Linked DNA regions of Homo sapiens: regions 1, 2 and 4 are each linked to region 3. The links are contacts of gene promoters, found by promoter capture Hi-C in blood cells and fetal thymus (Javierre and others, 2016). All regions are on one chromosome and are shown on one strand. Each heading gives the region's core, a stretch centred on a gene start or on the middle of the fragment in contact. The rest is flanking DNA. Distances are from core to core; before and after follow the strand shown.

Region 1 (5,972 bases), core at 22-2,521, 550 kb before region 3:
GGCTGGTTTCAAACTCCTGACCTCAAGTGATCTGCCTGCCTCAGCCTCCCAAAGTGCTGAGATTACAGGCATGAGCCACTGCGCCTGTCCTGGGGTGATGTTTCTTAAGCTACTTTCACTCAGAGCCTGCCAAATTTGCTTATTGAGCTGAGGTCTAGTGAGGAAGTCCTCAGAATGGGGAAGTAGAGTTATAGTTAAATATTGATGAAATCATTTCTTCTACTCCCCAGCCTGAAGAAGCTTAATCTTTTGACTTTCTGCTGCTCTGCTGAACTTTGAACCCCTACTGAGGAGGAGACACCTGTGGGAAGGGAGGGGGGTTGCTTGGGCTACCTGTTATCCTCTTAAGGCATTCTGGAATGTGGGTTTTGCAGACTCCTCCCTCCTCTGGAGCGGGAAACTGCACTCTCTGATGGTATCTCATGCTGTTAGTGGGATTGTCACTTAATTATTTTCCTGGTTACTTTGTGTGAACATCCAAGCCACCCTTGTTGGGAAGCTAGATGAGTCTAAAACTGAGACACTGGTGTTCTAGGATCCATCTTTCTTTTCTGCTCTCGGCCTGGAAATTGGTCTTTTATAATGTAGCACCTTGTCAAATTTACTTTCAGTTCTGTATTTCCTTTTTACTTCTGTCTAAATGGAAACAGATGGCAACATAATGTTTAAATGCAGTCTTTTTCCTTATCTCTTTTTTTTTGTGGTAGTGGTGATAAAAATACATGTAAAATTTACCATTTTAACCATTTATAAATGTACAGTTCACCTTATCTGTTTTTAATAACTCTCTCCTAATTGTCCCTGATATTTTTCTCTTTTTAATTTTTTTCTAGTCTAAAAAACTTAAGAGGCTGGGTGCGGTGGCTCACACCTGTAATCCCAGCCCTTTGGGAGGCCTAGGCGGGTGGATCTGAGGTCCACCTGTGGATCTGATGAAACCCCATCTCTACTAAAAATACAAAAAATTAGCTGGGCATGGTGGCGCATGCCTGTAATCCCAGCTACTTGGGAGGCTGAGGCACAAGAATTGCTTCAACCCTGGAGGCGGAGGTGGCAGTGAACCAGGATTGGATCATGCCACTGTACTCCAGCCTGGGCGAGTATCGGCACTGGGGGAGTGAGGGGTCAACTGCGGGAGTGTAAGGTCAGCACACTACCTCTGCCTCAAAAAGAAAAAAAAAAGTAATAACAAAAACCTTAAGAGTACTACCGAGGGAGTGGGCTTTGATTCTGGCCTTAATCCTAAATTCCTAGTCTCTGGAGAGGTTAGAATGCTTGACTGTTGTGTGGTTCTCTTCTATTCGTGGGCCTGGTGGACTAAGCAACCTTTCTTTGGTTGCTTTGCTTTCCTTTCTCTTTCCCCAGTACTAGAACACACACTCACAGGGGAGAGGCAGATAGCCCTTTACCCCTGCTTAGGCTCCGCCTTTGTTTACTGTGGGGCAGATAGCTCTACTCCCTTCCAACTTGCCTCCCCTTTGGTGAAGTTTAAATTCCCCAAGGACACGGTATCTCCCTGGGTAATGCATTTGTGAGCACAGTGAACTCAAATAGTCCTTTACTCACAGGGCTCAAGCCTAACTTTCTGATACTCTTTCATTTGAATTTTATCTGTGGCTTTTATCTAATAAGAGAAACCCCAGTGTGGCAGAAAGCCAGATTTAGGCTAATCCCCTTCTGTCCTTGGCCCTGTTCTGCCTGAGAGTACCATCACACTGTCAGTTTCTTGCCTGGAGGGGTTGACATATTTGGGAAATCTCTTTGGAGTGGAGGATAGCCGAAGGTGTTGTCAGCCATCTGGTAATGTGACTGAGTTGCTGGGGCATTCTACTCTTTCCCCAATCCCTCACCCAGGATCTTTGCTTCCTGGGCAGTGGAGAATCCTATTATTACTTGAAGGGAAGAACCACAGAGTACTGTATATCCTCCACACTGGGCAGAGATAGGTCAGCTGAAACACCAAAACCGCATCTGGATGGGCATGCTAAAACCTAAGATGATTAGGAAAGTGCAGAGCTTAACGTTTCCCAGGGCCACAGGTAGCCTGGTCTGCAAAAAGTAGGCCTGTTCAATCTCTTGGTACCCATTGGTATTATTTGACCTGAAAGGGACAGGCACTGTGCATAGACTCATGAGGGAAAAGTCAGCTTGTCTTCCTTGTTCCTTTAAACAAAGTATCAGATCTTGATTCTGCAGGCTTTTGTTTCATTGTAAAGAGAACTGATCCTCTGTGCTAGGAGAAAAGAGAAAGGCAAGGTCCCATTCCCTACCACTCCACCCTGGAGGGGGTCTCTGAAGCTTTTTCTAGGACTCCCATCTCAGGTTCTGCTTTTGATACAGGCTTGTTCATGTGTGCATGCTCTTAGGAGGGCACCAAGATGTGTTTTCCCCCTCTCCCTTTTCAGCCTTGCTAAGAATTCTATTGTAAATGCTGATTTGTGGGAGAAACTGCCTGAGCCAGCTTGCTGTCATGGCAACTGTACACCCCCGCCCCATAGCCTGTTATCTTCTACTCCAGTTTGGGTAACTACTGGTGAGCTGCATGATGTCTTACATTTCATGAGCTTCCTCTAAATCTAGTTGTATTTTTCGTCTGAGGGGGGTAAGTCATTTTACTAGCAGTGTCTCCTAGGTCTTGCCTGATAGCCTGACTTGCTCTTGATCCATGGCCTTGTTGGGTTTGTGAGGAGAAATGTGTGTTGTTACAGAGAACATCTATTTTTCTGGAAGAGGCAGAAGCAGAGAATACTTGTCTTTGTGGTGTTTTGAGTAGTGTAGTTAGAGGCACAAATGGTTTCTTAATGATTTCAGCTTATGTTGACTTCTCGATTTTCTTTGCCTGGTGGCTAGATTGTAGCCCCAGCCCTCTGCTTCCCTTCCTAGTCTCTTCAGCTTCTCATGTTTGTATGTGGAAGTTTTTGTGCCAGTCCTGATGGTTAAAAAGGAGTCTTTTGGTCTATATTCTTCCTCATCGGAGCTAGTGGCCCAGGCTGTTTCTATAGCTGCACCAACTCCTGCCTGCCAGGAAGAAATCAGGGTAATAGAATTCAGGCACAATCTGGGCTATAGAAGAGAGATCGTGTTTACCAGGCACTTGGATAAGCATCTGAACTGGGTGGTGTGCGGGGCATATTAAATTCTTGTATACTGTTGCAGTCAGGGTACCTCCCACCAGTAAAGGTAGCGGGGAGGCAGTCATGGAAAGAGGTTTTCCTACCATTAGAATTTATCCATCCACCTGCAGGCTGCCTCCTTCTTTCCTTGTTTCTTAGAGAAAACCCATCCAGGATGGGTTTACTTGGACTCTAACCTATATACTTCATTGTGAGATGGAGGCCAGGGGGAAGATTGTCGCTGTATTAGAGGGTGAAGCTAAGGGGATGGCTGGAGGAATAGAAAGGAGAAAATTCAGAAATTTGGAGGAATGGTAGTGGGTGTGGTGGAAATGTTCTTTCTTTTTTGTAAAGCTATCAAAGCAGATAATTTTAGCCAGAAGCAGCTCCTTGTAGCCAACTTAAAAAAGGAGTACGGGGGCACAAGTTGAAGGGCTGGTGAGTAGGCATCCCAACAATATTCCATTCTTTTGCTTTCCAGTCTGGAAGGCTATTCTGGAAGACATTCCCTTGGCTAGTTATTCTTCTGATGTGTTAGGGTAAAGTGATCATAGGAATAACGGTTTGAGTTAAGCAGCAATTAATAGGTAATCCAGGATTCCCTCTTTTTTTTTTTTTTTTTTTGAAATGGAGTTTCACCGTGTTGCCCAGGCTGGAGTGTAGTGGCGCAATCTCAGCTCAGTACAACCTCTGCCTCCCGGGTTCAAGGGATTCTTCTGCCTCAGCCTCCCGAGTAGCTGGGACTAGAGGTACGCGCCACCACACCTGGCTAATTTTTGTATTTTTTATTAGAGTCAGGGTTTCACCATATTGGCCAGGCTGGTCTCAAATTCCTGACCTCATGATCCACCCGCCCCAGCCTCCCAGAATACTGGGATTACAGGCATGAGCCACCACACCCAGTCAGGATACCCTCTTTAAGAAACCTTGCTTTTTTTTTTTTTTTTTTCCTGCTTTATGAGACACTTGAAAGGTTACTGAGGATGAGACATGCCTCCAAGCCAGAGCTCAGGCAGAAGGAACCCTTCATTGACTTTCTTTTCTGACTCCAGTGTGTTGAGGAATTTGAACTGAGTCCAGGAAGTGGGTGGTACTAACTCACTGGGCTGGGCAAGGAACTGAGTTTTAAAACACTCTTCCTGTGGAACATATGGGAGTTCGTTGATGGGAAAGGGAGGAAATATATATATATAAAGTTATGTCTGCTAGATCTTTTAACAGCTGAGCTAAGACAAGTTCTACCCTGCGAGACTCTGGCTTTTTCATGGTAGTCAACCCTGATCTTAATGTCATAGTTATTTCTTCTTTTCTCCATGCCTCTGCTTCCCTTGTCCATTCTTTCCTTCAAATGCAGGCTGAGGCTGAGGTGGCCTCCTTGAACCGTAGGATCCAGCTGGTTGAAGAAGAGCTGGACCGTGCTCAGGAGCGCCTGGCCACTGCCCTGCAAAAGCTGGAAGAAGCTGAAAAAGCTGCTGATGAGAGTGAGAGGTGTGTAGGGAAGCCTGATGGAGTGTGGATTTTAAAAGTTCATAATAGTTCTGATCAAGATTTCCTTATAGACCTGTTTTCTAAATAGCAATTCTGGCTGCGTGTGATGGCTCACGCCTGTAATCCCAGCACTTTGGGACGCTGAGGCAGGAGGGTGGCTCAAGCCCAGGAAGTTGGGGCTACAGTGAGCTCTGATTGCGCCACTGCACTCCTGGGTGACAGAGAAAGACCCTGTGTCAATCAGTCAATAAAAATAAAATACTAACTCCATCACACAGGATCTCCTTTCTATTCTGCATATTCTGTCCCCTTGAAGACAGTAAGGGTAACTTAGATGTTGTGACCCTTTTGTAATTGGTATTTCCTTACAAATTGGCCTAATGATCCTTAAAATGGGATCACCAGTATGACTTCTACTTTCTGGATCATAAGCTTCTATTTGTGAGATTAATTTCTCTAAAACAGAGGTTCTCTAAGTAAGGTCTCAGACCAGCAGCATCAGCAATACTTGGGAACTTGGTAAAAATTCACATTCTCAGCTCCTATGCTGATCTGCTGAATCAGAAACTTTGGATGTGGGGCCTGGCAATCTGTTTTTAGTAAGCCTTCTCAACGCTGGTTGCATTATTAGAATCATAGGTAGGGGTGAGGGGGGAAATCACTGGGGAATTTAAAACTGGATGCTTAGATCTCATCCCAGTTCCATTAGAATCAGTTGCAAGAGGGGTCTGGGCATTGATGTTTTTAAAGTTCTCCAGCTAATTTTTTTTTTTTTTTTTTTTTTGAGACAGAGTCTCGCTCTATAGCCCAGGCTGGAGTGCAGTGGCGCAATCTGGGCTCACTGCAAGCTCCGCCTCCCGGGTTCACGCCATTCTCCTGCCTCAGCCTCCCAAGTAGCTGGGACTACAGGTGTCCGCCACCACGCCCGGCTAATTTTTTGTATTTTTAGTAGAGACAGGGTTTCACCGTATTAGCCAGGATGGTCTTGATCTCCTGCCTTTGTGATCCTCCCGCCTCGGCCTCCCAGTGTGCTGGGATTACAGGCGTGAGCCACTGCGCCCGGCCTTCCCCAGCTAATTTTAATGTGTTCCTAGGGTTGAGAACCATGGCCCTTGAAACAAATTATAACTCATGTTTTTGAAAATAGCCAGTTGTCTCCTTGCCACATGTGAGTTAAACTAGAACAGAGGTGCTTGACAACTAAGGGTTTTCAGAATAAATAGTGCCTTTCTAAGGGTACGTTACTACTGTGCAGCTGTGAAAATGAAAGAGGCAGCTATGTGTATACTATTAGAGTAGCATGCAAATTATAGAAAGTGAGGGCCGGGCGCAGTGGCTCACACCTGTAATCCCAGCACTTTGGGAGCCTGA
Region 2 (5,582 bases), core at 713-3,212, 580 kb before region 3:
CAGGAGAGCGGGAACATCCTGGCTAACGTGAAAACCAGTCTCTACTAAAAATACAAAAAAAAAAAAATTAGCCGGGCGTGGTGGCGGGTGCCTGTAGTCCCAGCTACGTGGGAGGCTGGGGCAGGAGAATGGCATGAACCCAGGAGGCGGAGCTTGCAGTGAGCCAAGATCGCGCCACTGCACTCCAGCCTGGGCAACAGAGCAAGACTCCATCTCGAAAAAAAATTAGCTGGGAGTGGTGGCGACCACCTACCTGTAGTCCCAGCTACTCAGGAGCTGAGGTGCGTGTACCACTTGTGCCTGGGAGGCAGAGGTTGCAGTGAGCCAAGATCATGCCACTGCCCTCTAACCTGGGCAACAGAGTGAGACACTGTCTCAAAAAAAAAAAAAAAAAAAACTGCTTAGAGCACTGATGAAAATGAACATGTAGAAAGGCTGGAAAAGGGCATTTGGTCTAGAAGTCAGCAGAAGCCTGTTCAAAATTCACTTTCTTTGAAAGATAAATACTAGATGATTCCAGTTATATGAGATACCTAGGTAGTCAAACTCAGAGACAGAAAGTAGAATGATGGTTGCAGGGGCTGGAGAGTGGGGGAAATAGGGAGTTGTTCACTGGGTATAGTTTCAGTTTTGCAAGATGAAAATGTGGAGGTTGGTTGCACAACACTGTGAATATACTTAACACTACTGAACCATACATTTAAAAATTCTTAAGATGGTAAATTTTATGTTACATGTATTTTACCACAATCTTTTTAAAAATTATTTCTGAAGGCCAGGCATGGTGGCTCACGGCTGTAATCCCAGCACTTTGGGAGGCTGAGGCGGGTGGATCACCTGAGGTCAGGAGTTCAAGACCAGCCTGGCCAACATGGTGAAACCCTGTCTCTACTAAAAATAGAAAAATTGGCTGGGCATTGTGGTATGCACCTGCAATCCCCAGCTACTCGGGAGGCCGAGACAGGTCGCTTCAACCTAGGAGGCAGAGGTTGCAGTGAGCCAAGATTGTGCCACTGCACTCCAGCCTGAGCAACAGAGAAAAAGACTCCATCTCAAAAACAAAAAATTATGTTTGATTTGTAGTTTCTAGGAATGTTCATTGGGTTTAGTGAAGAGTATAGGCTTTGAAATCTGACAAACTTAGGTTTGAATCCCAGGTCTGTCACTTAACTAGTTTTGTGACCTCATACAAGCTAATTATTGGACCCTTAGTTTCCTAATCTGCAAAACAAGGTGATACCTATATTGGGGATACCTGTCTCTGAAAAAAAAGCTTGAGCCAGAGGCAAGAACTCTGGGAAATTGGTTTCTCTGCTGCTAGTTGTTTTTGGTATGAGTAGGTGTGTGTCAGGGTACCCAAACAGGGCCTTTATTCTGTCACCCAGGCTGGAGTGCTGCTACTTTTTTAGGGTGTGTGTGAGAGAGAGAGACAGGGTCTCAGTCTGTCGCCCAGACTGGAGTGCAGTGGCACATTCATGGCTCACTGCAGCCTCGAATTCTGGGTTCAAGCGATCCTCCTGCCTCAGCCTCCTGAGGAACCAGGACTACAGGTGCTTGCCACCATACCTGGCTAATTTTTTGCAGAGATAGGGTCTCACTTTGTTTCCCAGACTGGTCTCAAACTCCCCTGGGCTCAAGCGATCTCTGGCCTCTGCCTCCTGAAGTGCTGGGATTACAGGTATAAGTGACCATGCCCAGCCTCTCTGCTACTTTTTTTTTTTTTGAGATGGAGTCTTGCTCTGTCACCCAGGCTGAAGTGCAGTGGCGCAATCTTGGCTTGCAACCTCTGCCTCCTGGGTTCAAGTGATTCTCTTGCCTCAGCCTCCCGAGTAGCTGGGATTACAGGCACCCGCCACCACTCCCAGCTAATTTTTGTATTTTTAGTAGAGACAGGGTTTCACCATGTTGGCCAGGCTGGTCTCGAACTCCTGACCTCAAACAATCCACCTGCCTGGGCCTCCCAAAGTGCTGGGATTACAGGCGTGAGCCACCGCGCTCAGCCTCTTGTATTTCTAAGCTACTAGATGGGGTTTTAGTAACTAGTTTACAAAATAGGACAGATAGGACACAAATAACTATTTGTGACTATTGCTGCATTTATGGCCTGGGATAAGCCCTGATTTCTTTGATTAGTCCTCATTCTGTCAATGACCTCCCCTCTCTGTTCTTCAGGGTTAAAGCACGAATTGGGAGCTCTCAGCGACATCACCAGTCAGCAGCCAAAGACCTAACTCAGTCCCCTGAGGTCTCCCCAACAACCATCCAGGTGACATACCTCCCCTCCAGTCAGAAGAGTAAACGTGCCAAGCACTTCCTTGAATTGAAGAGCTTTAAGGATAACTATAACACATTGGAGAGTACTCTGTGACGGAGCTGAAGGACTCTTGCCGTAGATTAAGCCAGTCAGTTGCAATGTGCAAGACAGGCTGCTTGCCGGGCCGCCCTCGGAACATCTGGCCCAGCAGGCCCAGACTGTATCCATCCAAGTTCCCGTTGTATCCAGAGTTCTTAGAGCTTGTGTCTAAAGGGTAATTCCCCAACCCTTCCTTATGAGCATTTTTAGAACATTGGCTAAGACTATTTTCCCCCAGTAGCGCTTTTTTCTGGATTTGCATTCAGGTGTTATTCTTAATGTTTCTGTCAAAGCTTCTTAAAAATCTTCACTTGGTTTCAGCCATAGTTCACCTTCCCTGTTCCAGGTTTATTTAATTCCAAAGGTGAGAGTTGGAGTGAGATGTCTTCCATATCTATACCTTTGTGCACAGTTGAATGGGAACTGTTTGGGTTTAGGGCATCTTAGAGTTGATTGATGGAAAAAGCAGACAGGAACTGGTGGGAGGTCAAGTGGGGAAGTTGGTGAATGTGGAATAACTTACCTTTGTGCTCCACTTAAACCAGATGTGTTGCAGCTTTCCTGACATGCAAGGATCTACTTTAATTCCACACTCTCATTAATAAATTGAATAAAAGGGAATGTTTTGGCACCTGATATAATCTGCCAGGCTATGTGACAGTAGGAAGGAATGGTTTCCCCTAACAAGCCCAATGCACTGGTCTGACTTTATAAATTATTTAATAAAATGAACTATTATCAAATAAAACGTATGAATCAGTCCTTTATAGTTGTCTTTTAATAAAACAGGCATTTGATAATGTTATCTGCACATTTCTAACAGGGTATAGGGCATGAGGATTTGCCTCCAGAGAATTGGTGGGACTGTGTGCATACCCTGGACCTACGACCATACACATACTCCTTGGGACCCTAGCACAAGAAATCCTAAAATCAGGACTGTGGCCCTTGCTCATAGATGCCTGTGTCACCAACAGAAGGCTGCAGAACAAGGATTCTCTCAAGGTTTCTGGGGCAACAGGCCAGGTGGCCAATCAACTCCTAGGCCCAGGGTTATTGTTGGAGGTGTAAATGTTACTATGACTACTGAAACCTTGGTTACTGAACTAAACAGAGGAGCCTGTCAGTCTCCTCAGACTGTATCAAGCAAATCTATAGACATGTCTGTGGAAAAGATGACAAAAGTAGAAGAGGTATGCAGAGTTGGAAGGAGGGGCTGGGTTGAAGTTTGATGAAGTTTCCAGATCAATTTACTATAAGTGCATCTTTTACTGGGAAAGGCTTTTGATGTAACAAGGGTATAATGTAGTTAGTAACAGGAGTGGGAGGCTGTGTCTAGTACACAGTAGGTATTCAAATATGTGTTCTATCCAACCCCTGCGTGTTTTCTTTGATCCATTCTGAAAGTAGAGCTTTCCTCTCCCTATTTCCCCCCAGGAAATTGCTTTCTCAAAAAGGTCTATGTGGCTGGGTGCGGTGACTCACGCCTGTAATCCTATCACTTTGGGAGGCTGAGGTGGGCGGATCACCTGAGGTCAGGAGTTCGAGACTAGCCTGACCAACATGGAGAAACCCCATCTCTACTAAAAATACAAAATTAGCCCGGCATGGTGGTGCATTCCTATAATCTCAGCTACTCGGAGGCTGAGGCAGGAGAATCGCTTGAACCCGGGAGGCGGAGATTGCGGTGAGCCGAGATCACGCCACTGCACTCTGGCCTGGGCAACAAGAGCAAAACTCTGTCTCAAAAAAAAAAAAGGTCTATGTCTCTCATTAGAATAGAGGTTCTGGAGACTGAGGCAGATCAACAGAACTACCTTTTCTTGCAGAGTTTTCAAAAGGCCATGGGACTTAAGAAGACGGTCGACAGGTAATCTGCTTCTATCCCCTCCCTTTACCTTTGAGCTTGACCTTTCCACTCTGCTGTCTTCCCTGAGCCACCTCCCAACTCTGCTGCATCTCTTTAGGGGCTCATCAAGAGGAAAACAGATGCGGAAGGGGTGAGAAGCAGCCTTGTCCTCAAAGCAAATGAGATCAGCCTCTTAGTGCCTACTAGGTTAGGTGATATAGATTGGTTTTTATTGTCCCCTGCCTCATTCTCTGGAGAAAAATTGAAGCATGTTTTTATTTTCTTTTTTTATCAAGAATTCAAGTATTTGTTGCCTGGCTTTGTACTAATTATGTGGTTGGTAGTGCAGTATTTGTTGAACCAGTGAATGAGAAGATTCACAAGACTGGGCTACGTATCCTTTTCACCCTGATGAACTTTTGAAAAAACTGATGCAGCCGGGCGCGGTGGCTCACGCCTGTAATCCTAGCACTTTGGGAGGCTGAGGCAGGAGGATTGCCTGAGCTCAGGAGTTCAAGACCAGCCTAGGCAACATGGTGAAACCCTGTCTCTACTAAAATACAAAAGAAGTTAGCCAGGCATGGTAGTGTGCGCCTGTAGTCCCAGCTACTCGGGAGGCTGAGGCAGGAGAATTGCTTGAACTTAGGATGCGGAGGGTGCAGTGAGCCAAGATCGCACCACTGCACTCCAGCACTCCAGCCTGGGTGACAGAGCAAGACTCCGTCTCTACAAAAAAAAAAAAAAAAACACTGATGCAAGCCTGGCATGGTGGTTCACACCTATAATCCCAGCACCTTGGGAGGCCGAGGCAGGGGGATTGCTTGAGCCCAGGAGCTCGAGACCAGCCTGGGCAACATAGGAAAACCCTGTCTCTACCAAAAAAATTAAAATTAGCTAGGTGTGGTGGTGCATGCCTGTAGTCTCAGCCACTCAGGAGACTGAAGCAGGAGGATCAGTTGAGCTCAGGTCAAGTGATGCCACCACTGCATTCTAGCCTGGGTGAGAGAGGAAAACCCTGTCTCAAAACAAAACAAAATGAGCTGGGCACATTGGCTCATGTCTGTAATCCCAGCACTTTGGGAGGGCAAGGCAGGTGGATTGCTTGAGCTCAGGAGTTCGAGACCAGCCTGGGCAACATGGCAAGACCCCCATCTCTACCAAAAAACTTAATTTAAATAAATAAATAAGCACTGATGCCTAGTTCTTAACCCTAGGAGATTCTGATAAAAGTGGTCTGAAATGGGATAGGAGAAGCCTTTTTTTAAGGTTTCACGGGTTATATCCAGAGCTAGCAAGGATGTGAAGAAACAAGAACATATATGATTTTAATAGGAGTCTAGGTTGATACAGCCATGTTTACAAAGGCAGTTTGATAAAATC
Region 3 (5,969 bases), core at 1,478-3,977:
AGAGGCCTGTGGTAGATGTCTGCAGTGGCTGCCCAGGCAGGGATTGAGGAGGGTGGGGCAGGCAGGGGTGGTCACAGGACTGGGCCATGCTTCCTCTGGCTCTATTTTTACCCTGGACCTTGCCTGTCTAGCATAGCCAAGCTCTGCTGTTGAGGGTGGTGGGCTGGGGTGTCCACTACAGCCTTCCTTCTGCTGCCCACCCCTAGCAAGGAGTCAGTCTGGTACCCTCGGTCAGCCTGGTAGAGGGGATGGCAGCCCCAGTGGGTGGCGTACGCCTTCTGGGGGAGGGAGGTCTCACTGACTCTGAGTTTCCTGTCAGCAGCTGGGGGCCCCTTTTGGTCCTTCAACTCTGTTCTCTCCTGAACATGTCATTTTGGCTTCTTTGGGATATGCTCCCATTGCCTCTGCAAAATTATCCCTTCCATCTGGTGGGTGGCAGAAGGGGAGAGAGGAATGTCTGAGCCTTTTCCTTGGAGCCAGAGTTCCCAGGGAGTGGGAGAGGAGACCTGCAGGCGTTGTCCCTGCAACTGCTCACTCCTGGTTGATTCGGGGATAGTGGGAGCAAGGGGAATGGGGCTGCTGTGTGTTGGGGGAGAGAAAGGGCTGAAAGCATGCGGTCCTTTGAGTTCAAGGGGCTGGGAGAGAGTAGGAGAAGAAAGGAGAAAGGAGTGGTCTGTTGAGAGAGAAGACTGCCAAGCCGGGGGGCCTCTTTCCCTTGGCCCTGGGACAGTCTGGCCTTCCACAACCCCAGAGGGGGCAGCTCAGGTGTCTCGGATCAGATGTCCCCATCCTTCCCCAGGCCTAGGGGGCTGGACAATGGCCCCTGATCGAATGACATCCCAGTTCTTCAATGGGGCCCTTGTGAGTGTCATCTGAACTCCGGACCTGAGAAGCAGTTGTCACAGAGACATGGGGGAGATGGAACCCAAGCTGTGGCTGATGAGGGGATAAGGGGTGCTTGAGGGAGGGGTGCTGGTAGCTTGATTACCTGCTCCATGCCAGAGGGGCAGCTGGAGGTCACCTGGAGCCCTAAAGCAGCCTGGGATTTTACGTGGTGGCAGTTCTGAGAGGACTTGGGGGCAGGGGAGATGGGGAAACAAAGAGGTAAGAATGGGGGGAAAGAGGAGTCAAGAGGTCTGGGCCAAAAATGGGAGGAGGAGAAAGGGGAGGTCCTGTGGAGGTCGAGTTGGGAAGGGGCACAGCACCCTACATCTCTGCTTCCCCATATCATGGGAGCTTTGCCCTGCCACCCCCAGACTCCCCCGGGACCTGAGCTCTTGGCAAGGCAGGGTGGGGGTGGCAGAGACTAAGGCTGGCAGGAGAGGTGGGGGCAGAAACAGCTGTTGTATCTGCTCTCTTCTTACCCCACAGGAGGCGAGGCAGGGGAGGGCTGGGACCCTTCCCAACACCTGGGAGACAGAGGGGGCCTTGGCAGGGACTTGAGGGCTCCCTGTGGGAGGGCCAGGCGGTCAGGAAGCTCATGGTGGGTTCCCCACTGGCTTCCTCCTTTGCTGAGCTGCCAGCTCTCTCTCCGACCTTCAGTTCATTTGTCTCTCATCACCACCTTCCAAACCCTGTCTCCCCCAAATCCCAAACTGCCCTCACCCTGACTGACTCCTCCCAGATCCTCAGTGCTCCACAGTGCTATGGTCCCCAGCCTCTTGGAGCCCTTCTGAAGACCCCTCTCCCTGAAGCTGGCAGGCCAGGGACTAGCCCAGTGGGGCAGGGTACTCACGGTTGGCCTGGGCCTGAGGTGGGAGCAGGTTCTGGACAGATGGCCAAGGTTGCAAATGTGGCTGCTGGAGCTGTGTGTGGAGACCTGTCTTCAACAGTCCCTCCCCCGCTGACCCCCCCACCGACTCCACCCCTTCACAGACGAACACCCTGTGGGGCAAGGGGCCAGGAGCAGACAGAGGCGCCCTCTGTCTCCTGGGCTGGAACAGGCGGCCCTTGTCTCTTTCCCAGCCTTGCTTGCCCCGTTCCTTTCTCTCCAGGCAGCAGTGGATGGTGCAGGGGAAAGAGGTGGGAAGGAGGTCCTGGGAGGGACACTGGATGTCTTACCCCAAGCTGGGCCTTGCAGTACCTGTGGCTGGCTGTGCTGGTTGAGCCCGGTAAGGGGGGAATTCTGCTGAGGGGGTCTTAGTCTGTGGCTCCTCCATGGGGCCTCACTGAGAGGACCCTCAGTGAGAAACTTAGTCTTGGGAGTCTGAGAACCCACAGAGGGATTTCAATCCAGGACTCTTCTCTGGGGGTCTCAACCTGGATCCCCCTCTGTGTGTGGGGCCTCAGCCTGGGGTTCTCTGAGGGATCTTGGTCTGTAGCATCCTTTGTGGGATCTCATTCCAAGGGGCCTCTGTGTGTGTCTCAGATTGGGCCTCTCAGTGTTGAGCTCCCTTGATTGGTTGCCTCCCTCTTCCCCCCTCAGCATACACACTCCTGATTAGACATGGGTATGGTGGCAGCAGCCCCCAGTATTGAGAGGACTAGGACCCTGGGACCCCTGCCGAACGAGATCTGTCCAGGCAGCTCCTCTCCCTGACCAAGTGGGGGCGCTCGTGTGGCTGGCAGGGAGCCCGGGTCCAGACCTGAGGGCTCAGGGCAAGCGGCCTGATTGGGCTGTCTCTGGTCTTCAGAATCGACCACGGAAATTTGACACCTCCGGGCTTGGAAGCAGCTCTCTCCTCCTTCCCCGCTGCTTATAAACCTCAGCCCTGAGGCTCCAGCTCACTCTACCCCATCTCCTTGCCGGGTGAGTCTCATGGCTGACCCTGGAGGGAGGCTGGAGATCATTTTTTCTTCCTGGGCTCCCAGGTCCCTCCCCCAGAGCCAGCTCAGACAGGAATTCAGGAAGGAGCTTTGGATGATCGAGCAACAGCGCGTGCAGGAGTGTGTGACGGGGTGGACAGAAAAGAGAATGCCTCTTCCAGCCCCACCCGCCGCACCCCAGGGGGTTGTGAGTGCCTGTACTAAACCCGTCCTGGAGCAGGGAGTCAGAGACGCCCCGTTCCAGGACCCTTGTCACCGGGAGACAGGAGCGGGGAGGATCTGTGGGGTCCTGGGTTCAGCACTCTGCCCTGCTGCCGCTGAGGAGAGGTAAGGGTGGAGCGGGGCAGAGAAAATGGGTCTGTTCAGACGGAGCCAGCTCTGACCACAGGGGACATTTGCCAGACCCTGTGCTTCTCTGCTGGGAGGAGCGGTTAGAGTGTGTGTGGGCGGATGCGAGTGGCCGGAGACCAGGGCCCAACATAAACAAGCTTTGGAGACAAACAACCTTATGACCTGTGAGTCTGGGTGAGACAAGAAGGGATTCTTGAGACAGACACGCCACAGAGGGGCCACCAGACTTGAAGGACTCCAAGAAGGACCTTCAACTGAAGACCTCCTCTCAAGTAGAGGGGTCTCCAGATCGAGGGATCACCACAGAGGGGTCCCTAAGCCACAGACATTTAAAAAGGATCCCGGATTGTGAGACCTACAGAAGAGGGGGTTTCTGGAGCTGAATCTCCTGCCCCCACCAAAACTGAGATGCCGTTGCCTGGTCTGCTGCCCCAAGCTCAACCCCTGTCCTCTCCCTCTTTCCCCATATGCCCCCTCCAGGCTGAGACTGATGTGATAACACCAAGGCAGGGACCTTCTGAACCATTCCTGCATCTTGGGGCTCCCTGACTCTCCCTCTCTGCTCCTTCTCTCTTCCACAGGTCAGCCCTGACAAAGGTCAGCTAGCCCCTTGAGGACATCAGCTTTGGCCTCAGGGTCCTAATGGCAGCAGAACCACTGACAGAGCTAGAGGAGTCCATTGAGACCGTGGTCACCACCTTCTTCACCTTTGCAAGGCAGGAGGGCCGGAAGGATAGCCTCAGCGTCAACGAGTTCAAAGAGCTGGTTACCCAGCAGTTGCCCCATCTGCTCAAGGTAGGCAGAAGTCTGGGACTGAGATTTTGTGAGATGATGATTATGGGACACTGTGTTTAGGACGTGATGGTGCCGAGTACGGTGAGGTGACCACAAGAAAGGGTGTGGGTGGCTGCATGTGTCAATGGTTGCAGGTTTTCTTTTGTTTTTTCGAGACAAAGTCTCACTCTGTTGCCCAGGCCGGAGTGCAGTGGTGTGATCTTGGCTCACTGCAACCTCCATCTCCGGGGTTCAAGTGATTCTCCTGCCTCAGCCTCCTGAGTAGCTGGGATTACAGGTGTGTGCCACCACGCCGAGCCTATTTCTGTATTTTTAGTAGAGACAGGGTTTCACCAGGTTGGCCAGGCTGGTCTCGAACTCCTGACCTCAGGTGATCCACCCGCCTCGGCCTCCCAAAGTGCTGTGGTTACAGGCGCAAGCCACTGCGCCTGACCCGGTTGTGAGTTTTCTTGCCTGGTGTGTACATGTGTGTGTTTGTGTGTCCATGCATATAATTAGGTAAGCAAAGATACTATGTGCCAGTGGGAGTATGGTCTTGTGTCAGAAGATGCTGTTGGGTTCTTGTGTATGCTCTGTGCCTTTCTGGTCTAATTTCCCCAAGACAGGACTGGACCCAGAGCTGGCTTCCAGGAGATTCACAGACTGTCAGAGCTGGAAGGAGGCCAAGAGAAAACACAGTCCGCATTCCTCACTTCACATATATGGAAACTGAGGCCTAGCAGTGGAAAGGGGCTTATCAAAAATGAAAACACAGCCAAATTCATGGAGTCATAGACCTCAGTGTAGGGGGTCTGTGGGTGCATCTGTGAAGACTCCCTACCCGCTATGGGCATCCCCTTACTAGGGTGTAAGAGTCATTCCTTCTCTCGCACTCACAGGCTGGAGTCAGGTCTTAAATTTCATCGACTCTGGCCTCGAAGAGGCCTGGTCATTCTGGCTGTTGACAGTTTGTTTTACATCCTTTCTGAAAATCCACAGGCACGTTGAAGTGTGTGAATATGGACTCCTTGAACACAGTGAGTCTCTGAAACTCATGGTCTTTCATCTGCAAAATCCCCTACAACTTCCAACTTCTCAGACTTTTTTTTGAGACAGGGTTTCTCACTCTGTTGCCCAGGCCACTGTGCGATCACAGCTCATTGCATCCTTGACCTTCCGGGCTCAGGCAATCCTCCTGCCCCAGCCTCACAAGTAGCTGGGACCACAGGCGCATGCCACACTGCCTGGCTAATTTTTTCTTTTTTTGTGACAGAGTCTCACTCTGTCACCGAGGCTGGAGTGCAATGGTGCGATCTTGGCTCACTGCAACCTCTGCCTCCTGGGTTCAAGTGGTTCTCTTACCTCAGCCTCATGAGTAGCTGGGATTACAGGCAACCGCCACCATGCCTGGATAATTTTTGTATTTTTAGTAGAGACGGGGTTTCACTATGTTGGCCAGGCTGGTTTCGAACTCCTGATCTCAGGTGATCCACCTGCCTCGGCCTCTCAAAGTGCTGGAATTACAGGCGTGAGCCACCGCGCCTGGCCTAATTTTTAAGTTACTTGTAGAGATGTGGTCTCTCTGTGTTTCCCAAGCTGGTCTCAAACTCTAGGCCTCAAGTGATCCTCCTGCATTGGCCTTCCAAAGTGTTGGGATTACAGTCATGAGCCACTGTGCCCAGCCAGACGTTTCCTTTTTCATCTTTTTTACTGGAAACTTCAGGTTCTCTCCTGAAGGGACAGCATTCCTTATATCCTTGTCAAGCAGTGATTGTGGTTTTTTTTTTTTTTTTCCTAAATTCAACTTCCTCTGGGCCTGGAAATGGAGGAAGTGACCTCTCTGCTTTCCATTATCTCTAGATTTTAGTTTCTTCTTCTTTCTAAGACTTCCCAGCGCCTTGGAAGATCATCTGCCACCTGCCATTCTTCTTATTGCGCTCCTTACAGCTCTTCAGCTCCTGGCTCACTGTTTTCTTCTCATCACTGCTTCTGTTGTTATTCTCAGTGGCTTCAGCATCCGCACAGACAATTCATCCAACATCTGGGCCTTTCAATTTTCTCAACTCCTCATTTCCAAA
Region 4 (5,696 bases), core at 1,227-3,726, 600 kb before region 3:
CTCAAAGAAAAAAAAAGAAAAAAAAGGGCCAGGCGCGGTGACTCACGCCTGTAATTCCAGCACTTTGGGAGGCCGAGGAGAGTGGATTGCCTGAGGTCAAGAGTTTGAGAACAGCCTGGCCAACATAGTGAAACCCTGTCTCTACCAAAAATACAAAAAATTAGCTGGGCGTGGTGGCAGGCACCTGTAATCCCCGCTACTCGGGAGACTGGGGCAGGAGAATCGCTTGAACCCAGGAGTCGGAGGTTGCAGTAAGCTGAGATCCTGCCATTGCACTCCAGCCTGGGCGACAGAGGAGTCTCCATCTCAAAAAAAAAAAAAAGAAAAAAAGGTAAGGCTGGGTGTGGTGGCTCACACCTATAACCTCAGCACTTTGGGAGGTCGAGAGATCAAGGCAGGAGGATCATTTCAGGCCAGGAATCTGAGACCAGCCCAGGCAACCAAATGAGACTCTGGTCTCTACTAAAAATTTAAAAATTAGCCAAGTATGGTGGTACACTCCTGTCACCCAAACCACTTGAAGGCTGAGGCAGAATGATCACTTGAGCCCAGGAGATTGAGGCTGCGGTGAGTCGTGGTTATGTGACTGTACTCAGTCTAGGTGACAGAGTAAGACCCTGTCTCAAAAAGTATATAAAAATAAAAATAAAAGAAGACCAAACGACAGTCGCAGCCCTGACCCCAAGAGATACTGATTATACAAAGCCTTCCATCCAGGTTTTACTTGCAGTGTTCTCCCTATATTTCCTAAATTGGTATCAGCCAATTTAACTTTCCCCAGTGAAAAATACATATCTATGATACATTCCTAACTGCAAGAGGGAAAGTCTGTGGTAAGGAAAATAAGCTTAACACCCTTGCAAAACACTCTTCCTCAGGAAAATGAGCATTGTAAACTTAAAAGTTTTTAAAAAAATGCATACCTTGATTTACACATATTTTTGTAAAAAACCTGTACAAATGGAACTTCCAGGACAAACACCAACACTATCAGATTTCTTTCCTTTTTTTTTTTTTGGAAACTTAGTCTCACTTTGTCACCATGCTGGAGTGCAGTGGTGCGATCTCGGCTCACTGCAACCTCCGCCTCCCAGGTTGAAGTGATTCTCCTGCCTCAGCCTCCCAAGCAACTGGGACTACAGGGCACCACCAGGCCCAGCTAATTTTTGCATTTTTAGTAGAGATGGGGTTTCACCATGTTGGCCAGGATGGTCTTGATCACTTGACCTCGTGATCCGCCCGCCATGGCCTCCCAAAGTGCTGGGATTACAGGTGTGAGCCACTGTGCACAGCCTCAGATCTTTATTATCTTACCATCAAACTCAATCATGGCCCTAGTGCTCAGTAACAGCTACCTAATGTCTAATCACTTTCAGAATATGGGCTGAGTATTAGATAATACAAAATTATTAACCTTATCAGGATTGATAATAGTATTATGGTAATGTAAGAGTATCCTCCTTTAAGGGAAGCATGTTGAAGAACTTAAGGGTATCAAGTATTATGTCTACAACTTCCAGATAATTCCAAGTGTCCACTGATGAGTAAACAAAATGCCACATATATGTACAACGGAATATTAGCCTTAAAAAGGAATGAAATTCTGACCCATGCCACAATATGGACGAACCTTGAAACATTACACTAAGTGAAGTAAGTTAGACATACAAGGTCAAATATTACATGATTTCACTTACATGAGATCTCTAAAACAGGCAAATTCATAGAAATAGAAAACAGGGCCGGGGATGGTGGCTCACACCTATAATCCCAGCACTTTCCGAGGCCAAGGAGGGTGGATCACTTGAGGCCAGGAGTTAGAGACCATCCTAGGCAACATGGCAAAACCCTGTCTCTACTAAACATACCAAAATCAGCCAGGTGTGGTGGCACACACCTGTGGCCCTAGCTGCTTGGGAGGCTGAGGTGGGAAAAACGCTTGAGCCCAGGAGGCAGAGGCTGCAGTGAGCCGAGATCTCACCATTGCACTCCAGCCTGGGCAACAGAGCAAGACTCCATCTCAAAAAAAAGAAAAAAGAAAAAAAAAAAAAAGCCAAGTGTGGTGGCGCACACCTGTTGTCCCAGCTACTAAAGAGGCTGAGGTGGGAGGATTGCTTGAACCCAGGTGTCCATGGCTGCAGTGATCATGCTACTGCACTCCAGCCTGGGTGACAGGGCAAGACCCCATCTCTTAATTCATTTGTTTTAAAAAGATTACCTACCCAAGACTTGGTAGTTTGTTGCTGCCTACTCTTCCAACCCAAGCCTATTATACATTACAGTTAGTGGGTCATTTTATGCTCACAGTAAGTTAGAACAACCCTGTAGCTAAATATACACCAGGAACACTCTGGAAGCTAGACTCAAAACAGCTTTTAGAATTTATGCTGCTATCTCAAAACCTGGCAAGTTTCAGGAAACTGTAACCTTTCTCCCTCCTCTGTATGCACATCTGTTGCTGGCACAAGATGGGTCAGGAGAAAGAATTACTATTATCTTCCCAAAGGCGACTTCAGTTTTCTGAAATGATCTCACCCACCCAAATACATCCAATATCCCTGGGAGCTGACTTTGCTTCCCATTGGTTTCACTAGTAGCTAGTTTATTCGTAACATAAACCTATATTCTCCAGCTTATTTTCCTTTTTGATACTGTATAACATCAGCCTTATAGCACTAGACAGAAGATGCTGGAAGGTAAGATAAAATGTGATTTGCGAAAAAACATTCAGACTTTTAAAAAAACATAAATAGCCCCACCTGATTCCCCCCATAAAATCTGGAGACAATTATTCTAGAGTAAACCCAAAACAAATCAAAAGCATATCTTGATTGGCCAGATAGTAAATATTCAAATAAGGTCAACAGTGTAAAATTTAATCCAGGATAACACTTTTGAAGAAAAAACCCACCAATTTAAATTCAATTGTTTTTAAAAGTTTTCCATTATTATTTCCCATTGTCTCAAAGAAATTGACAAACCTCCTGCATTTAGCTGGAGTGACTCTGTAGTATCAGAAAGCTGTTGTATCTGAGGCCAGGTTTCATGGCTCACGCCTGTAATCCTAACATTTTGGAAGGCCGAGGCAGGAGGATTGCCTGAGCTCAGGAGTTCAAGACCACCCTGGGCAACATAGTGAAACACTGTCTCCACTAAAATACAAAAAATTAGCCAGGCATGGTGGTGCATGCCTGTAGTCCCAGCTACTCGGGAAGCTGAGGCATGAGAATTGCTTGAACCCAGGAGGCAGAGTTTGCAGTGAGCCGAGATGTACTCCGGCCTGGGAGACAGAGAGAGACACCGTCTCAAAAAAAAAAAATTAGCTGGGTATGGTGGTGAATGCCTGTAATCCCAGCTACTCTGGAGGCTGAGGCACAGGATCACTTGAACCTGGGAGGTGGAGGCTGCAGAGAGCAGGTTCACGCCACTGCACTCCAGCCTGGGCAACAAGAGCAAGACTCTGACTCAAGAAAAAAAACAAGTTGTTATCTGTAAGGATGAATTTTGATATCTATTCCAACCAAAGAGCCCCAGTATAAGACCCAATAAATGAAAATGATTTCAAAATAATACACTGGGCCAGGTGCGGTGGCTCATGCCCATAATCCCAGCACTTTGGGAGGACGAGGCGGGCAGCTAGCTTGAGTCCAGGAGTTTGAAATCAGCCTGAGCAACATGGAGAAACCCTGGCTCTACTAAAAATGGGAAAATCAGCTGGACATGGTGGCCCATGCCTGTGGTCCCAGCTACTCAGGAGGCTGAAGTAGGAGGATCACCTAAGCCCAGGACGAGGAGGTTGCAGCATGTCAGTGTACTCCAGCCAGGGCCACAGAGTAAGACCCTGGCTCAAAATAATAATAATAATAATAATACACTGCTCATTAAAAAAACAAAATTTCTCTAGTAAGCACTGCAGGAACATTCTGAAGATCAATAAGGCAGTCAGAGGATTACAATTTGGTACAAACATAAGACAAGCATAAAAACAGAATTCTCATGAAGTGGGAAGGAGAAGTGAAAGCGACTTGTCTAAATTCCAGGGCAAGAGATCCTCCAAGATATCCCCTATCATCTCCAGGGATGGTCAGCAGGCTACAAAGCTTGTTTCTCTGCTACCTCAACAGAAGGAAGTTCAGGCAATGAAACAGTAGTGTGCAATGCGAAGCTGATATTGAGGGGAATGTCCTGAATTCAGAATCAAATATGTAAAATAAATAAAATAAAATAAAATAAAAAGAAAAAAAAACAGAATCAAGTATAGTGTGTGACTTTGTTCAACAGCAATATCCAAGGCTATCAAATCGCACCTCTAATTCAGCCTAACCCCACAGCCTGAAAACAGTCACTAGCCTGGAATAAATAATTTATTCCAGGCCAATTAGCAGAGACTGATTTCACTGTTTTCTCCTATGAGCATTATCCTCATAAAAAGGATGTAGTACACATAAATTTTAAGTATTTATAACCTGTGGTGAACAATCTCCAAGAAAGTTCCCAACTTTACTTCAAGAAAAAGGTGCTCTGCTTTAAGGTATGTTGCCATTTGCTACTTTTAGAACATTACTAGCCTCCCAATTGAGGACCCATGTCCTAGAACACTCTATAAGCACTCTACCGTGTCTGGGTTTCCTTCCAGAAGAACATTGATAGCTCTGTTGACATCTCCATTGCAGTCATGCAAAGCAATCACACATTCATCCTGGTTCTTGCCTGTAATATCAATCAACTGAAAGAGAAAAAACAGCAACCATCATGAACAGGCTTATGCTCACACTCCCAATGAAAGGAAACTAGGTGAAGGGAAACGCTATCAGTTGAGTTTGAAAAAAACAAGTTTAAAAAGCAAAAGATGAGGGCTGGGCACAGTGGCTCACGCCTATAATCCCAGCACTTTGCAAGGCTGAGGTGGGCGGATCACCTGAGGTCAGGAGTTTGAGACCAACCTGACCAAAATGATTAAACCTGTCTCTACTAAAAATACAAAAATTAGCTGGGTGTGGTGGCGGGCGCCTGTAATCCTAGCTACTTGGGAGGCTGGGGCAGAAGAATTGCTTGAACCCAGGAGGCGGAGGTTGCAGTGAGCTGAGATTGCGCCACTGCACTCTAGCCTGGACCACAGAGCAAGACTCCGTCTCAAAATAAAAAAAAAAACAAAAAAGAAAGAAAGAAAAATGATGTAGAATTTGCCTAGCAGGTTTTCCAGAACCACCCCCCCAACCCCCGCCAAAAAGGAAAACATGTAGAATTTTGGTATTCTATTTCCAAAAGCCAAATATTAACATCTGTGGTTCAGGGATGAGGTCAAAAGTATTTACAAAGCAATTAAGCATCAAATACAGAATCAAACTCTGAAACACACAGGCTTCAGCATGAATTTCCACATTTCCTATACCCACAACTGCTCAGTTTCTACAAAATGGCATCAGCAACAGGCAAGAGGTTAAAATTAAGATAAAATTTCCAAACAAAGTATCTATCCAAAGGGCTACAATAGGCTGGGTGCAGTGGCTCACACCTGTAATCCCAGCACTTTGGGAGGCTGAGGCAGGCAGATCACTTGAGGTCAGGAGTTCGAGACCAGCCTGGCCAACATGGTGAAACCCCATCTTTACTAAAAATACAAAAAATTAGCCAGGCATGGTGGTGAGCGCCTGTAATCCCAACTACTCGGGAGGCTGAAGCACGAGAATCGCTTG

Evidence for each region. The method cuts DNA at HindIII sites, captures the fragments that hold promoters and counts their contacts. A CHiCAGO score of 5 or more calls a contact.
Region 1: a fragment that was not itself captured here is called in contact with the fragment with the promoter of S100A13 in region 3 in 2 of 17 cell types (M0 macrophages and erythroblasts); the score reaches 7.4 in M0 macrophages.
Region 2: a contact is called between a fragment that was not itself captured here and the fragment with the promoter of S100A13 in region 3, in 1 of 17 cell types (total B cells). The highest score is 6.0, in total B cells.
Region 4: a contact is called between a fragment that was not itself captured here and the fragment with the promoter of S100A13 in region 3, in 2 of 17 cell types (naive B cells and total B cells). The highest score is 7.1, in naive B cells.

What each region holds. Positions count from the first base shown.
Region 1 is chr1:154,174,744-154,180,715 of GRCh38, reverse strand. TPM3 (tropomyosin 3) reads left to right here. Exons shown (of 10, transcript NM_152263.4): 3 at 4,468-4,601. Among named protein-coding and RNA genes, the nearest start is that of TPM3, 14 kb to the left of the region's middle. RefSeq lists an enhancer at 1-523. The HindIII fragment of the contact is 2,058 bases long and covers 243-2,300 here.
Region 2 is chr1:154,204,239-154,209,820 of GRCh38, reverse strand. It overlaps LTAP1 (lipid transport auxiliary protein 1), which reads left to right. Exons shown (of 7, transcript NM_001098616.3): 7 at 2,173-3,101. The coding sequence ends at 2,368. CFAP141 (cilia and flagella associated protein 141) reads left to right here and starts at 3,488. Exons shown (of 4, transcript NM_001010979.3): 1 at 3,488-3,546; 2 at 4,183-4,223. The coding sequence starts at 3,514. The HindIII fragment of the contact is 1,373 bases long and covers 1,276-2,648 here.
Region 3 is chr1:153,624,263-153,630,231 of GRCh38, reverse strand. S100A13 (S100 calcium binding protein A13) reads left to right here and starts at 2,727. Exons shown (of 3, transcript NM_001024211.2): 1 at 2,727-2,749; 2 at 3,699-3,912. The coding sequence starts at 3,760. It overlaps S100A1 (S100 calcium binding protein A1), which reads right to left and starts at 1,798. Exons shown (of 3, transcript NM_006271.2): 1 at 1,736-1,798. RefSeq lists enhancers at 830-1,653, 2,480-3,305. The HindIII fragment of the contact is 11,281 bases long and covers 1-3,256 here.
Region 4 is chr1:154,227,645-154,233,340 of GRCh38, reverse strand. It overlaps UBAP2L (ubiquitin associated protein 2 like), which reads right to left. Exons shown (of 27, transcript NM_014847.4): 4 at 4,616-4,726. Among named protein-coding and RNA genes, the nearest start is that of UBAP2L, 9.5 kb to the right of the region's middle. RefSeq lists an enhancer at 1-156. The HindIII fragment of the contact is 3,253 bases long and covers 850-4,102 here.